Linked DNA regions of Homo sapiens: regions 1 and 2 are each linked to region 3. The links are contacts of gene promoters, found by promoter capture Hi-C in blood cells and fetal thymus (Javierre and others, 2016). All regions are on one chromosome and are shown on one strand. Each heading gives the region's core, a stretch centred on a gene start or on the middle of the fragment in contact. The rest is flanking DNA. Distances are from core to core; before and after follow the strand shown. Region 1 overlaps GLOD4 (glyoxalase domain containing 4). Region 2 has its middle 4.2 kb from the start of GEMIN4. Region 3 holds the start of NXN (nucleoredoxin).

Region 1 (2,700 bases), core at 17-2,516, 200 kb before region 3:
CAACTTCCGTCAGTGGCCACTCCAGCTTCCTGGCGTTGCTGACAGCCTGGCTAGAAGCGAGCGTGATTCCCTACAACAAACAACAGTACATCCAAGTACATGATCACAACAGATATTTTACAGAACAAGACAATGAGCCCAACCCCTATTGCCTACTGCCTTTAGGTAAAATCACCTAAGATTTAACTGGCATCCAACATTTTCTTCTAGTGATTTAAAAACAGGTTTTCAATGTTTTATCCCACAAACATTCAGACCTTTGTGAATAATAGGACAGAAATTGAAATGCCAGTGAAGTCTGATTCATTTAACACCAAAGATAACGTCTTCTAATTCTAAAGATCTAGCCACAGAAATCTTGATGTTACCTGGGTCTGCCAGCTAGCTACCTATTTAAGGTGACCTGTTCTTGCTTTTTTAACAAACAAAACAAAAATAAGCAAACTATCAAGGTTTCCTTACATTTAATCAAAGTGCCTAGAAATGTACACGTGTGCTTTGAGAAGACCAGCCTTGTTTCTGGCTCGGTTTATTATAATGGCCTCTCTGCCTCCAGTCTTGTAAATCCATTACCCACTCTGCAGCCAAAGTAAACTTTCCAAAACGCATCCTATAGTCCACCCCCAGACTGCAGCCAGCCTTGTTTTCCCTTTGCTCAAAGTCCGCCAATGGCTCATTTCACTCGGTGACTTACGGCCTAGGAGGCCCCCTGCAGTCTTACCCCATGGCACTGCCGACCCCATCTCTTACCACGCTCCCCTCTCGTTCTCTATTCCAGCCACACTGGCTTCCTTACACCTCCTCGAACACGCCAGATGTTACCTGACGGCTCTTGCCAGAATATTCTCTGCCTGGAACGCGCATCCCCCAGATATCCACGTGGCTAACTCCCTGACCTCTTTTGAGTCTCTGCTCAAATGTTATCTCTTCACTCACACACACCCTTGGCACTCTACTCAAATTTACAACCAGCCACCTACCCCCAGCCAAAACTCTGCTAGAAAAAAACGGTATTTACCATAAAGTCATTGCCAAGCTTGTAGTCTCCGACGCCATAATTGTAAGTCAGTTCTGCGACAAAATGATCATCCTCAGGCCCAAATCCCACCATTGTTTTACTCCATTTCCCATCATAAGGCCTAGAAAATAAAAGTAAATGAACTCAGTGACTACAGACAAGTCAGCCTCAGGCCACCCCCAGAGAACTACTGGGCACAGAGAGATGAGCATTCCTGTCTGGTCCTAAAAGTTCTCTTAAGGATGAGATGACCTCAGATGGTACAGAAAGCAGCTGTGGGCAGTGCTCATGGGACCCTACTACAAGCTCCAAAGACTATCCAGCATCTACCTGAAGGAAAGATTTGTTCACCTTTTCTGTAAAGCAAGGAACAGAATCCTAAAGACAGTTCTCCAACTGACCTGTTATTTCCTTGACTATCAATCAACAAGCATGAAATTCCTAATAGGCCTTGGACTGTTCCAACTTGTCACGGTACTAAGCTTAAGAGATGGACGGGCGTGGTGGCTCAGGCCTGTAATCCCAGCACTTTGGGAGGCCGAGGCGGGAGGATCACCTGAGGTCAGGAGTTCGAGACCAGCCTGGCCAACATGGTGAAACCCCGTCTCTACTAAAAATACAAAAATTAGCTGGGCATGGTGGCACATGCCCATAGTCCCACGTACTAGGGAGGCTGAGGGAGGAGAATTGCTTGAACTCAGAAGACAGAGGTTGCAGTGAGCCAGGATAATGACCCCGCACTCCCACCTGGGTGACAAAGTGAGATTCTGTCTCAAAAAAAAAAAGATACTGGAAAGCCGCTGCTTCATCTAGAGCATGTACTTATTTGCATTTGTGGCATAATATGAAACATATCTGGTCATTGTCCCTGGTTCCTGTCTCAGAGCTCCCAAAACCTCTGGAATTTCCTGATAGGAATATCTTTTGTTATATTCATAATGAGCCCCTTTCAGTCACACCTGAGTTTATGCTAATGAAGTGACTTAGAGTGGGGCCTCTACATAGACTCAGGATGGGGCTGGTCACCAGAAAGACAAATGATTAGAGGACTGAACTTTCAGTCCCATCCACCAACCTCTGGGAAGGAAAGGGATGGAGACTGGGCTCTATTAGGCTTGAACAATGAGACTCATGAGCTTCTGGGATGCTGAACGTAGGGAGGTGCTGGATTGGAGCCTGCCCAGAAGAGCATGGAAGCTCTGCCACCCACTCCCCATGCCCTGCCCTGTGTATCTCCTCTGTCCAGCCATTTCTGACTCGTACTCTTTATGATAAACCAGTAAATGTAAGTAAGTGTTTCCAGCGTTTCCCTTAGTTCCATGAGCCACTGTAGCAGACTATCAAACCCAAGGAAGCAGGAGCGGGAGCCCTGACTTGTAGTTGGTCATCGGAAATCCTGAAGATCCAGACTGTGACCGGCGCCTGACGTGGCGGAAAATCTTCTGGGACTGAGCCCTTAACTTGCAGGATCTGACATTAACTCCAGGTAGAGTCAGAATCAATTAAATAACAGGACAGCCGGCTGGTGTTAGAGAGCTGGAGAATCCCTTTGTGTCCCACAGGTGTTGTATGAGAGTGCAGAGAAATGTGTTCCCGACGCTCCTGAAGTTGCCTCCCTAATTTACTGCCTTCTTAATTAATTCCACTGCTTTATACTCATGAGAGTGCAGAGAAACAGTATG
Region 2 (2,700 bases), core at 82-2,581, 220 kb before region 3:
AGAAGGCCACATATCTCCCCAGGTGGTCTCCCTCACCTGACAATATAAATTAACAGCTTATCTTCATAGGTAAGGGACAAAGACAACACCAGAAACCATCCCTCACCAGCCGAGACAAAACATAGATGTACTGAGCTGAATGCATAACTGTTCCTCTGCCTGCTGCTTTCACTGTAACATATAGATTTGGTGAGCAGTAAATGTAGATTTACTGAGCTGAATGCATAACTGTTCCTCTGCCCGCTCCTTTCACTGTAACATGTAGATTTGGTGAGCGCTAAATGTAGATTTACTGAGCTGAATGCATAACTGACTGTTCGTCTGCCCGCTCCTTTCACTGTAACATGTAGATTTGGTGAGCACTAAATGTAGATTTACTGAGCTGAATGCATAACTGAGTGTTCCTCTGCCCGCTCCTTTCACTGTAACATGTAGAGTTGGTGAGCGCTAAATGTAGATTTACTGAGCTGAATGCAAAACTGACTGTTCCTCTGCCTGCTCCTTTCACTGTAACATGTAGATTTGGTGAGTGCTAAATGTAGACTTACTGAGCTGAATGCGTAACTGTTCCTCTGCCCGCTCCTTTCACTGTAACATGTAGATTTGGTGAGCACTAAATGTAGATTTACTGAGCTGAATGCAAAACTGACTGTTCCTCTGCCTGCTCCTTTCACTGTAACATGTAGATTTGGTGAGTGCTAAATGTAGATTTACTGAGCTGAATGCAAAACTGACTGTTCCTCTACCCCCTCCTTTCACTGTGACATGTAGATTTGGTGAGCGCTGATCAAAGCCTAATAAGAATGTAACCACTTATCTCCCTACCTACCCTCCTGTATTTTTCCTTTCCCTCTTCCCTCCCTTCCTGCTCTTTCCCTTTTAAATACTTGTTAGGAATAATGCTCAAAATCCTAAGGAAATAGAACACTCGAACAAAGGATTCTTAGCAAAGCAATTTTACTTCTGTGCAGAGGGGTGCCTCCTTGGCCAGTTGTCATGAGAGCACACCTGAACAAAGGGGCACGAGAGCCTTTGTTCCTGACACAAGTCCTGCCCCTCTACCCTTTCCCCATTGGCCGGGGTCAGGTCGTACAATCTAAACTAATCGCGCTTGGCTAAACATTTGATTTTTTTAGATAGGGTGGGCCCGTAAAAGAAAGCGGAGAGGAAGGGGAAGGGGTGTCTGTAATGAGCTAGAAAGTTAGTCCTCTTTCCAAATAAGGAAAGGAATGTGAGCTGGTACTGATAACGCCTGGTGCTGTGGCGTGCCTGGGCATCTCACAAAGGCAAAAAGGGAAAAGGAGAAAAAGGGGGCGGGGCGCTATGAATTAAAGAATAAAAGATTGATCAGATTATTTGAAGAGAAACGTCGTCATATCCCACATACTGAGGCCCTAAAAATCCTCTCTGGAAAGTGTGCGGGGGCCACAGATCTGTGGTTGTGTCTCAGGCACATCCTCAGCCTTGGCAAAATAAACCTCTAAATGGGCGAGACTTGTCTCAGACACTTACCCGGTTTACAATACCTTTTCATATTGTTTTCATTTTTGAACCATGTGGCTCTATTGCTTTATATAAAGAGGATGAGGCAAGGGCACTTCTTTATTATCATTGAAGTCAGAGTAAATTTACTATTGATTTCCCCTGAGGTTGGGGTAAGAACTCTTAGAACAAACAGGGAAACTTCTCAACTCTTACCCTGAATTTCAACGGACACGTTGGAGGTCTCCTGAAAACTCTGGCTGCTAAGTCACAGCGGCACTGAGTGGCAGGTGAGAGAGCCAGAAAGCCACATGAAGGAGCACTCACCGTCCCTAGGTTTGTTAATTCCGGTAACATGTCAGACGGACACGGACTTCAGACAGTCCTGCAGGCTAACTAGGAGAGCTCTGGCAACACGGCCGTTCTAAGTCTTCCCGGAGATTTAACTCAAGGCACACTTGTATTTACATGTAGGCTCCACAACCCCTTGATTCAAAAAAACAACTCTGGAGAAGCTGAAGAACTTTCCAACTTCATCTGTTTGAAACAACAGCTTGCAGCCTGAACAACGCAGTGAGACGGTCGCTACAAAAGATCAAAACGTTGGCTGGGTGTGGTGGCACGTGGCTGTGGGCCCAGCCATTCGGGAGGCTGAGGTGGGAGGATCTCTTGAGCCCCAGAGGTCAAGGCTGCAGAAAGCCACGATGGTGCCCCACTGCACTCCACCCTGCGTGATAGAGCAATGTCTCAAAAACCAAAAATGAAACACCAGCTTGGGCAAAGCTATCTTCCTCATGCCATTTTCTAATTGATCATATCCCCCAGATGTGGGAAACTAATCACTTTTGTTTAAAATTAGTTTTTGCGGATCTAATGGGCGTCTAAATAATTTTTTTTTTTTTGAGACGGAGTTTCGCTCTTGGTGCCCAGCTGGAGTGCGACAGCGTGATCTCGCTTCACCGCGACCTCCGCCTCCCAGGTTCAAGGGATTCTCCTGCCTTGGCCTCCTGAGTAGCTGGGATTACAGGCAGGTACCACCACACCCATCTAATTTTGTATTTTTAGTAGAGATGGGGTTTCTCCGTGTTGGTCAGGCTGGTCTCGAGCTCCCGACCTCAGGTGATCCGCCTGCCTCAGCCTCCCAACGTGCTGGCATTATAGGCTTGAGCCGCCGCGCCCGGCCTAAATAATAATTTTTAAAAATTACTCTTTTTTGGT
Region 3 (2,700 bases), core at 24-2,523:
CGGGACCACAGGGGCCACCACGCAGCTGAGCTCTGCACAGCCCGGGCTGTTCCCGCGCCCGGGAGGCGTCTGGGGAGGAGGCTGGACGGCCAGACAATGCAAAGCTCCCCGGTGGCCGCGAACTCAGCCTGGGGCGGGGGAGGCGGGGGCGGGAGACGGAGCCGTGAGCGCCCTTCTCGGCCACAGCCACGGCCACGGTCACCGGCCGCCTCTCCTGACCTCGGCCTCGGCCCCCAGGTCCCCGGTCCCCGGGGAAGGGGCTCCGGGAAGGCAGGTTTCTCCCGGAAAGAAAGGAAACGCGCTGGTTTGGGCGCCACGGGCGGGGGGCGTGCGCCCTCCCCTCCCCTCCCCTCCCCACTGTGGGAATCCGCGGGGGTCGGCGGCGGAGGCAGGAAGGGCCTGGCGCCTCTGCTCGCGGGTGAAGGGGTCGCGGAACCGGGATCCCCGAGCGCAGCCGCCCCCACCCGAGGCTCCCAGCGTGTGCGGACGGAGGGGCTCGAGCCGGGATCCCGGGGGCCGAGGGGGGTCCAACTTTCCAGGGCGGGCGCAGCGCAGCACTCGAACCAAAGAGGGGTCCTGGGATGAGGGTGCGGGCACAGCGCGGAAGGGGGGGGGGCAGAGGCGGGGACGGCGGGGTGGGGGGCGGGGAGAGGACAGTGGGTCGGGGGGCGGGGGACTGGGGGCAGGGGTCGGGGGGTGGAGGGCGGGCAGGGGGACAACGGGGTTGGCGGAGGGCAGGGGTAACGGGCGTGGGGGGCGGGCAGGGGTAACGGGCGTGGGGGGCGGGCAGGGGCCGGCGAGGCCCGCGCCGCTCACCTTCCTGTGCTTCTCCTTGTAGGGCAGCGCCAGCCACGGCATGTCCCGCACGAAGTCCTGCCACTGCCGCTGGTCCTGGTCCGAGGACACGAAGACGATCTCCAGGCGCCGCCGCGGCTCGGGCTCCGCCGCCGCCCCGGCCCCCGCTCCCGGCCCCGGCCCGGCCGCCGCGTCCCCCCGCAGGCGCCCGTAGAAGGCGGCCAGGCTGGCGCTGAGCTGCGCGCAGGGGGCGCTGAGGCTGCAGCCGAAGTAGAGACCCAGCAGCGAGATGCCGCGGGCGCCCAGCGAGTGCACGTCCACCTCCTCGCCGCCGCCCGTCACCAGCTTCTCGCCGAGCAGCTCCTCCAGGAAGCCCGACATCCTGGCCCACCGCAGGGCGGGCAGGCGGCTGCGACCCCGCTCCACGGTCCGCGCGGCGGGAGGAGGCGGCGGCGTCGGCGGCAGGCGCTGGGGAGAGCAGAGCCCGGCCCAGTAGGGCCGCCCACGCCACGCCCCCTCCGCCTGCCCGCGCCACGCCCCTTCCCCCGCCCTGCCACGCCCCCTCCGCGGCCCGCGCCACGCCCCTTCGGCTGCCCTCGCCACGCCCCTCCGCCCGCCCTCGCCACGCCCCCTCCGCCCTCGCCACGCCCCGTTTGCGGCCGGCGGTGGCCAGAGCTCTCCGCCCAGGCGGGGTCCGCAGCTGCCGGCCGCGGTGCGCGGGGTGACTGCTTGGGCGAGAAGCCGGACCCGAAACGCCGCACTCTCCCTGGAAAGCCCACGGCCGAAGTGAAGAAAGGAGAAGGGCCCGCTGAGCCGGCGCTTTCCCGGGCTGCAGCCCGGCCCGCATTTTCTCTCCTCCCCAGTTCTAAATTCCCTCCAGACCTCCAGGGATCCCGCCCCCTCCCCGCGGAGCTCTTCACCCTCTTCCTGTTCCTCCCCGGCCTTTCCCTCCTCCTCTCCCTGCACGAAGCCTGACCCTTAGGCCGCTCCGGGCCCCACTGACCCTGAGATGCTTATAGGACCCGCCGTCCTCACTGCATCAGGCCGGGCCTGGCTGGACACTGACTCCTCTGTGTGTTCCAAGCTGTTCTAAGGGGGCCGAGGACGCCCTCGCAGCTTCTGGTGGGGTCTGGTTAGGGTGCCAGGTCTCAGTGTGGGATTTCCGTCCAGGGGTCGCCGGGGCCTCTCCCCCCAGCGAATCTGTCTTCCAGCCCCACAAATGGATGCAAAGGACGCCGCGGGGCCTCCAGACCAATGCTGGCCGCGCTCCTGAATCCGCTCCATCCTCATGTCAAGTCTATGGATAGTTGAGAACATTTCTAGAGATTTTTTTTTTCCTACCAGCTGGCAGGATGCTCCCCAATGCTTAGGGAGAAGCTGGATTAAACAGGTGGTCTGGGCCGGGCGCGGTGGCTCACGCCTGAATTCCCAGCACTTTGGGAGGCCGAGGTGGGTGGATCACAAGGTCAGGAGTTCGAGACCAGCCTGGCCAATATGGTGACACCCCCCCCCCGCCTCTACTAAAAATACAAAAATTAGCGGGGTGTAGTGGCAGGCACCTGTAATCCGAGCAACTCAGGAGGCTGAGGTAGGAGAATGGCGTGAAGCCGGGAGACGGAGGCTGCAGTGAGCCGAGATCGCTCCATTGCACTCCAGCCTGGGCAACAGAGCAAGACTCCGTCTCAAAAAAAACAAAAAAACAGGTGGTCCGTGGCGAGTACTCTGGCCACGCAGCGCCTCCCCCCAACCCAACCCACTGGTGCACGAAGCAGGTGCAGATCCGGGCCCAGCCACAGTAACAGGCCGCCGGTGTGGATCAGCTACTGACGACTCAGCGAAAGCAAAAAAATAAAAGCTGAAAACCCGCCCCTCTCAGAGCTTCCACCGCCGCTTCGGAGGATATTT

Evidence for each region. The method cuts DNA at HindIII sites, captures the fragments that hold promoters and counts their contacts. A CHiCAGO score of 5 or more calls a contact.
Region 1: a contact is called between a fragment that was not itself captured here and the fragment with the promoter of NXN in region 3, in 15 of 17 cell types (endothelial precursors, naive CD4 T cells, megakaryocytes and 12 more). The highest score is 15.8, in endothelial precursors.
Region 2: a fragment that was not itself captured here is called in contact with the fragment with the promoter of NXN in region 3 in 10 of 17 cell types (naive CD4 T cells, naive CD8 T cells, total CD8 T cells and 7 more); the score reaches 10.2 in naive CD4 T cells.

The regions. Positions count from the first base shown.
Region 1 is chr17:775,850-778,549 of GRCh38, forward strand. It overlaps GLOD4 (glyoxalase domain containing 4), which reads right to left. Exons shown (of 9, transcript NM_016080.4): 3 at 1,019-1,139; 4 at 1-70. Among named protein-coding and RNA genes, the nearest start is that of GLOD4, 5.1 kb to the right of the region's middle. The HindIII fragment of the contact is 464 bases long and covers 1,035-1,498 here.
Region 2 is chr17:755,113-757,812 of GRCh38, forward strand. It overlaps the pseudogene DBIL5P. Among named protein-coding and RNA genes, the nearest start is that of GEMIN4, 4.2 kb to the left of the region's middle. The HindIII fragment of the contact is 2,801 bases long and covers 1-2,700 here.
Region 3 is chr17:978,503-981,202 of GRCh38, forward strand. It overlaps NXN (nucleoredoxin), which reads right to left and starts at 1,274. Exons shown (of 8, transcript NM_022463.5): 1 at 817-1,274. The coding sequence starts at 1,176. RefSeq lists enhancers at 187-1,122, 2,547-2,700. The HindIII fragment of the contact is 5,276 bases long and covers 1-2,700 here.